Regions from separate parts of the Homo sapiens genome. Here region 2 is linked to region 1. The links are contacts of gene promoters, found by promoter capture Hi-C in human tissues and cell types (Jung and others, 2019). All regions are on one chromosome and are shown on one strand. The core of a region is centred on a gene start or on the middle of the fragment in contact, and the rest is flanking DNA. Distances in the headings are between cores, read along the strand shown. Region 1 holds the start of LPAR1 (lysophosphatidic acid receptor 1). Region 2 overlaps SVEP1 (sushi, von Willebrand factor type A, EGF and pentraxin domain containing 1).

Region 1 (3,291 bases), core at 344-2,843:
GTGCATGAACATATTAGCACTGTGCATGTACTAAAATTTCAATTTTTTCACATAGTAGGTTATAAAATAAATCATATATTCGTAGGAAAGGTATAGAAAGCAAAGTTATTTAAAGTGGATTTTTAAAAAAGATTTGAATGATTTTTTTTAAAAAAAAGATTAGAACCATTGTTTTTAAAAGGAAACAGCTTTAGATAGTAAATTATTTACAGCCAGGACTCAGCCCTGAGCATCCTGTGAAAACCACACGAGCTTGGTCAAGGTTCTAAGCAGTCACCGGTGGGAGATGGTCATGGTCCCGTCACAGCATAACTCACTTGAGGCTTGAAAAGTTTCCGTCCAGCTACGGTTTGCAGTGACCTTTCTCTTCTGCAAAGCCCACGGTTACCTGGTGGCCACCACCAACATAGCCCCGCCTCGCTGTCCTGCGTTTCTCTCAATCAGATCAGTCCTGCCGAGTCCCCATGCCTTACTGCTGGTGTGCTGTGTCCTCTGTGCCATTTCAAGGCGAGGGCTCATGAAACTTTTACTCACACGCTGCTATTTTTGATATGCGGTGGCCTTAGCTGTGGAGCGAGAGGCCGATAATTGTGATCACTCCGGAAATCCTGGGAAGCCAGAAGTGGGAGATGGGTGTTGTGAGGTGGCGTGGCTAGGGAGACCCCATCGAGTGGGTGTGTTATAAGACCTGGGCGAATCCCTGTGGCTGCCACTCTCCTGAGAATGTTCCCTAGGCCTTAGTCCCGCGCCGCTCCCACCCACACCTCCAGGTGTGCAGTCCCCGCCCTTAATTACTCTCACTAAAATTGATAGTTTACACTTGCAAAGCTACACTGGGAAAGCGGAAGAGAAATTTATAATCGTGGATATGGAGAACTAGGGGAGCAGACACACTTGCTTTCGTTTACAGATCCAGTGAAGTGAAAAATCAGAACTAGAAACGTATGCACCTTCCTAGCAGCAAAGCCGCTTCTGCGTTCTTCGCAGCCTCCAGTGCAGGGCGGCGCTGGGAGAAACTTTGCGCCTTCTGGAAAGTTTAGAAAGTGAGCCACGAAAGAGAGGCCACATTTCCGGGGTTTTGCGGGCCCCGCGATGTTTTCCAGAGCTTTTCGAGTGGGAAGAGGAGAGCGACAACGTGAAAATGCCCCGTGCCGGGGCGTCCACCGGAGTCCTGCCAGCTGTCCGGCGCTGGGGTAAGCGCAGGAGGGGCGGGGGTGGGACCCGAGCTGGCGGCCACGGGTCTCCCGCTGCGGGTGTGTCGACTCGGGGGCGGGGCGGGGGAGGCTGCTGAGATAATGAATGGGAGGCTAAGGCCACCCCCCAGCCCCGGCCCTGCCACCACCGTGGGCTGTCGAGCCAATGAATGGAGGAGGGGGCGCAGAGGTCAGGGGCGCTGGGGGCGCCACACCAGGTAAGGGGTCCAGCTTGGGAGCGGGGAGGGCGGACTCTGGGGGTTCGGGTGTTGCTGACTTGTGCTACGTGGAACAAGCAGAAAAGAAGGAAGGCGGAGGAAGAGAGGAGGCTGGCGTCGGCGCTGCTCCTCTGGCCCTCCCTCTGCGCCCCCTCCTCCTGCCAGCGCGCCAAAGCCGGGCAGTAGGGGCCGACTGGCGGCTGACGCTCCCTGAGTGGCGACTCCGTCTCCAGCCCCGCTGCGGAGCGCGGGCCGGATCTGGGGCGGCCAGGGCCCGGAGCCGCGGAGCCCTCCCCGCCGCCCGGCCGAGCACGGGACCCCGGCGGGGTGGGCGCAGGGGGCGGCCCCGCTCTGGGCGACTGCCGAGGGGCGGGCGGAGGGCCGGGCTCGGCTGGCGGTGGGGCGGGGGCCGCCGGGACTGGGCGCGCGGCCTGAAGCCAGCCCGGGGGCGGCAGGAGAGGGACGCGCGGCGGCAGCGAGCGCAGGTAAGGGGGCCGGCGCGGCGTGTGGGGACGGCGCCCCCTGGGCGCGAAGCCAGAGGCCGCGGCGACTGCTCGGCCCGCCACACGGCGCGCTGGGCTCACACTGTCCCGCCGCGGACGGGCTTTGTGGTTGGGGGCGCGCGTGCGAGTGCCAGTGAGAGTGTGGGTGCGCGCTGTGGGCCGCGGCGCGGGTGGGTGGCCGTGCGTTCTTGCGAGCCGGCCTGCAGGAGGCGAGGCTCCCCTGGCCTCCCGCACCCAGCGGCGGACCGAGCCCCTGGAGGGAAGTTGCCGCAGCCGCCCGGGCCGCCGGCCCTCCTGTCCCGCGCCAGGTCAGTGCGCCCCGGGGCCCGCCCAGTGACACGTAGGTGGCCTCCGGTTACCTGGGTCGGGGTGGGTGCGCGGGAGGGCTTGCGAGGGGCCCTCGAAATTCTCCCAAAACCTCGTCCCGCTGGACTTGCACCTCCGAGGGGTCCCTGCGCCCCTGGGGCTCCGCACCTCTCGCTTCCCACTGACGACTCGGTTGTCCCCCACCACCGGGCTGAGGACTTTTAACTAAGTTTCTGTCCAGCCGCCTAACAAACGTGCTTAACAAGTAACAGGAGGTTGTAAGGCAAGGGAGGGACCTGGCTTTGAAAGTTGATGGTTTTGAAATCGACGGCTCCTTTGACTTGCGTAGGACTCCTTTGTGGTGAATGGATTTAAAGTTTATTCTTGTTTTTCTTTGCTGCCATTTGGTCTTTGCAATGTTAAGAGTGAAGGCATTCAGGACTTGCTGCTGCCTGCTGTCTGGGGCCTGAGGTTGTGGCTCTCCGCTTCTGCTCTCCTCTCTTCATTTTTGTTGAAATCCGTGGATTTTTTCATAAATGTGGGTGCTGGCTTGTTTCACTATGGACGCGTCGTTTCCTATGGGGTTAGATAGATATTGGTAAACATAAATATTGAAAATGTGATGATCACATATTGATGATCACAGCGAAATCCTCTATTCCTTCAGGCTCTAACAGTTTGTTTTTCACGTATTTGCATAAGTGTGTTTGCTCAGCTAAGCATAATTGGTAAGCCAGAGGTCTGTGATTCAGAGTCTGCAGTTCTGGTTAAGGGGAGACTGTACACTTGGAAAATGCGAAGTTTTTTAAGAAGTTATTCCCTTGCCGGATAGAAGAGTGGGTCCCAAGGAAAAAGGGTGTATTTTAGAGGTATGGTTATTTGAACCAAACTAAACATCATTAAAATACACAGGGAGGTAGAATGTCACCTAGTTCTTTCTGCCCTTGATTTCCATATCCCAGTAGGAGCGAGTATAATTGCCCCAAATGCAAAATTATGAATAATAATCAGCATTGTAAGTATATTAAGGTTGCATTTTTTTCTTGATACTTGTCTGATTTGAGGATAAAA
Region 2 (3,029 bases), core at 176-2,675, 540 kb after region 1:
TCCCAATTGATCAAACCAAAAAGATGGAAGTTGAGGGATGCCAGTGGCAGAAGGAAAAACCCCAATGTCCATTTAATAAGGAGTTCCAGAAGGAGAGAGGAGAGGAGATGGAGAAAAATTTCTCTACCAAGAGAAGAAAATTTCTCTGAGCTAGAGAATGGCTTAATCCTTTAGACCACAAATAACTCCTGAGTGTTGGGTTGGCATACTTTGACTACTCCTAGTGAAATTTCTGAGTTGCAGAGTTAATGGAAAAATCTTAAATAACTTTTCATGGAGAAAGAAAGAAATTGCACAAAAGAAACAAGAATTAGACTCACGTTACCTATTTCATTTACAACTTTAAATGCCACAAGGAAATGTAGCAATGTGTACAGGATATGGAGAGCAAATAAATATAAACTTTAGATTCCAGGTCCAGTCAAGCTATTGTTTAAGCATGAATGAAAAATCAAATACTTTTTAAAAATTTTTTCAGAGTTAATATGCTATTATGTCTTCCTGTGGGAGAGAGTTGTCCAAGTATAAGCCCCTTTGAGAAAGAGAAAATATAAATTGAATTAAATTTTGAAGAAACAAGAAGACGTGAGACACAATGAGATCAATTCAGATATATTCAGCCAGAAGTTACAGAAGACCTAATTTAACATAAATTAAAATAAAAGATGTATTTTATCATATAACAAAAGCTTAAGCACTACCATAACTGGCGTGCATCTGTGTAACGTTAGCACGTCTAATTCAGCACCATAGTATAAAGTAAAAAATATCATTGGCTTTAATTTGTTGCTTGCTTTGACAGTACGTTTCAGTTTCTGCTAGTTAATTCTAGTTGACAGCCTCATTTTCAAGTGTAGTTTCTTCCTGTCACAGTCAACATTTTTTAATTTAGTTCATTCAAAAAATATTTCTCAAGCTCCTATGATATGTCAGGTACCATATAAGACAGTGGGGCAAGACATCCTGACCTTCAAATAACTTAAATTCTATTGGGGGAGAAAATTCAATTTCAAAATAGCTTGTTGAGTTTTATGGTTGGGAAATCCAGAGGGCTATGGGAACTTGTGGAGTGGGGACCTCAAATGGGCCTGGAGAATCAGCAAGAGCTTCCTGAGGAGCTGTGTCTAAGCCTGTTCAAGAGCAAGTACTAGACATCCAGGTAAAGGGAGAAGAGGGCACTAATTCAGGCAAATAAAAGAACATAGGTAAGGGCCCAGGTAAAAGAAAGGCAATGGCCTGACAGTAACTCAATGTGGAGAGTGAATTCCTGTAGGAGAAAAGGAAGAAATGAGGCTAAGAGGTTAATAGGTACTAGTTCAAGATTGGGCTCGTAAGCCATGCTGAGATAAATGATCAGGAAAGCAGGTGGGTGCAGATTCCGAACAATCAGTAACTGGGATGTACAAATGTGTCACAGTGTATTAATATAACTAGATTTGTACCTCTTCCTTAAATGATCTAGGACCACATATCAGTGTATTAATCTACTTGTGTATTTTTCTGAGTTAGACGTGGAGGCTCCTCAAATCAACTGTCCTAAGGACATAGAGGCTAAGACTCTGGAACAGCAAGATTCTGCCAATGTTACCTGGCAGATTCCAACAGCTAAAGACAACTCTGGTGAAAAGGTAAGGTTTGTGCAATTATGTGCATCCTTTTCAAATGAATTCTAAATATACTGCAGATATGTGTGTTGAAGACTTACTAATATGCTCATGGTAATACTTGTATTAGGGTTCTCTAGAGGGACAGAACTAATAGGATAGATGTATATATGAAAGTGAGTTTATTAAGGACTATTGACTCACACCATCACAAGGTGAAGTTCCACAATAGGCCATCTGCAAGGTGAGGAGCAAGGAAGTCAGTCCAAGTCCCAAAACCTCAGAAGTGGGGAAGCCGATAGTGCAGCCTTCAGTTAGTGGCCAAAGGCACAAGAACTCCTGGCAAACCACTGATATAAGTACAAAAGTCCAAAAGCTGAAGAACTTGGAGTCTGATGTTCAAGGGCAGGAAGCAGCCAGCACGGGAGAAAGATGAAGGCTGGAAGACTCAGCAGGTCTGCTCTTCTCACCTTCCTCTGCCTGCTTTATTCTAGCCAAGGTGGCAGCTGATTAGATGGTGCCCACCCAGACTGAGGGTGGGTCTGCCTCTCCCAGTCCTCCTCAAATGTTAATCTTTGGCAACATCCTCACAGACACACCCAGGAACAATACTTCGTATCCTTCAATCCAATCAAGTTGACGCTCAATATTAACCATCACAATACTCTTTGTGTATGAACTCTACTCGTAAATGTGAATGCGGCATCTGACAGAATAATGATCAACCTTGAATTTTTAATTAGAAATCTCAGATAAAATCCTCAAAACCAGAAACTTTTCATTCTATGGATTTGTTGTATTATTGTAGCCACTAAGATTACTTGACGAAGAATTCTTTGCCCTTTACTAGGTTCTGAGGATCTTTTAAGAAAAGAAAAGATGTGGACTCAATCCTAATTGCTATTTATGAACCTATCTTTTAAAATATGGGCCCAAAATGATTGTGTATTTTTCAGTCAGAAAGAGATAGCACTGGTGTTTCTTCTTCAAGCTTGTCTGAATCCAGCATTATTCAGAACACAGTATTTTAATTTTCTTTGTATAGTAGCTTGAAATAATCCATCAGATGTTAGAAAAATAGTTCATTTAGGAATTTTACTTCCTCTTATATGTACATGGTTAGTATTCATATACATTAAGATGCACTTAAATATTATGTTATTTCTACACTTACCTGTAAATATATATAAGTTGGACCAATCAGGATACACTGGGGGCGGCGGGGGGGATGCAGAGCGCAACATAGAAAAAATAGCTGTTCCGATCATTGTGTTGAATATACTTACAATCAAGGTAGCTTTTAAATCTGATTTGAAAAGGGCAAATGTGATTTCTAGGGCTGAATGCACTTTAGGTGGTTTGTGTGTTGAACAGTCTCTCATGTGTGATATTTCCACCACATCTTTTTCTTTTCACTCTGACCCT

The links. Contacts are between HindIII fragments. The study calls those that stand out against the background at their distance.
Region 2: a contact is called between a fragment that was not itself captured here and the fragment with the promoter of LPAR1 in region 1, in 1 of the 25 tissues and cell types used here (mesenchymal stem cells).

The regions. Positions count from the first base shown.
Region 1 is chr9:111,036,772-111,040,062 of GRCh38, reverse strand. LPAR1 (lysophosphatidic acid receptor 1) reads left to right here and starts at 1,593. Exons shown (of 6, transcript NM_001351411.2): 1 at 1,593-1,896. LOC124902248 (a long non-coding RNA gene) reads right to left here and starts at 3,135. Exons shown (of 2, transcript XR_007061732.1): 1 at 2,274-3,135; 2 at 1-608. RefSeq lists a silencer at 1,824-2,163. The HindIII fragment of the contact is 11,259 bases long and covers 1-3,291 here.
Region 2 is chr9:110,495,414-110,498,442 of GRCh38, reverse strand. SVEP1 (sushi, von Willebrand factor type A, EGF and pentraxin domain containing 1) reads left to right here. Exons shown (of 48, transcript NM_153366.4): 8 at 1,510-1,628. Among named protein-coding and RNA genes, the nearest start is that of SVEP1, 83 kb to the left of the region's middle. The HindIII fragment of the contact is 5,309 bases long and covers 1-3,029 here.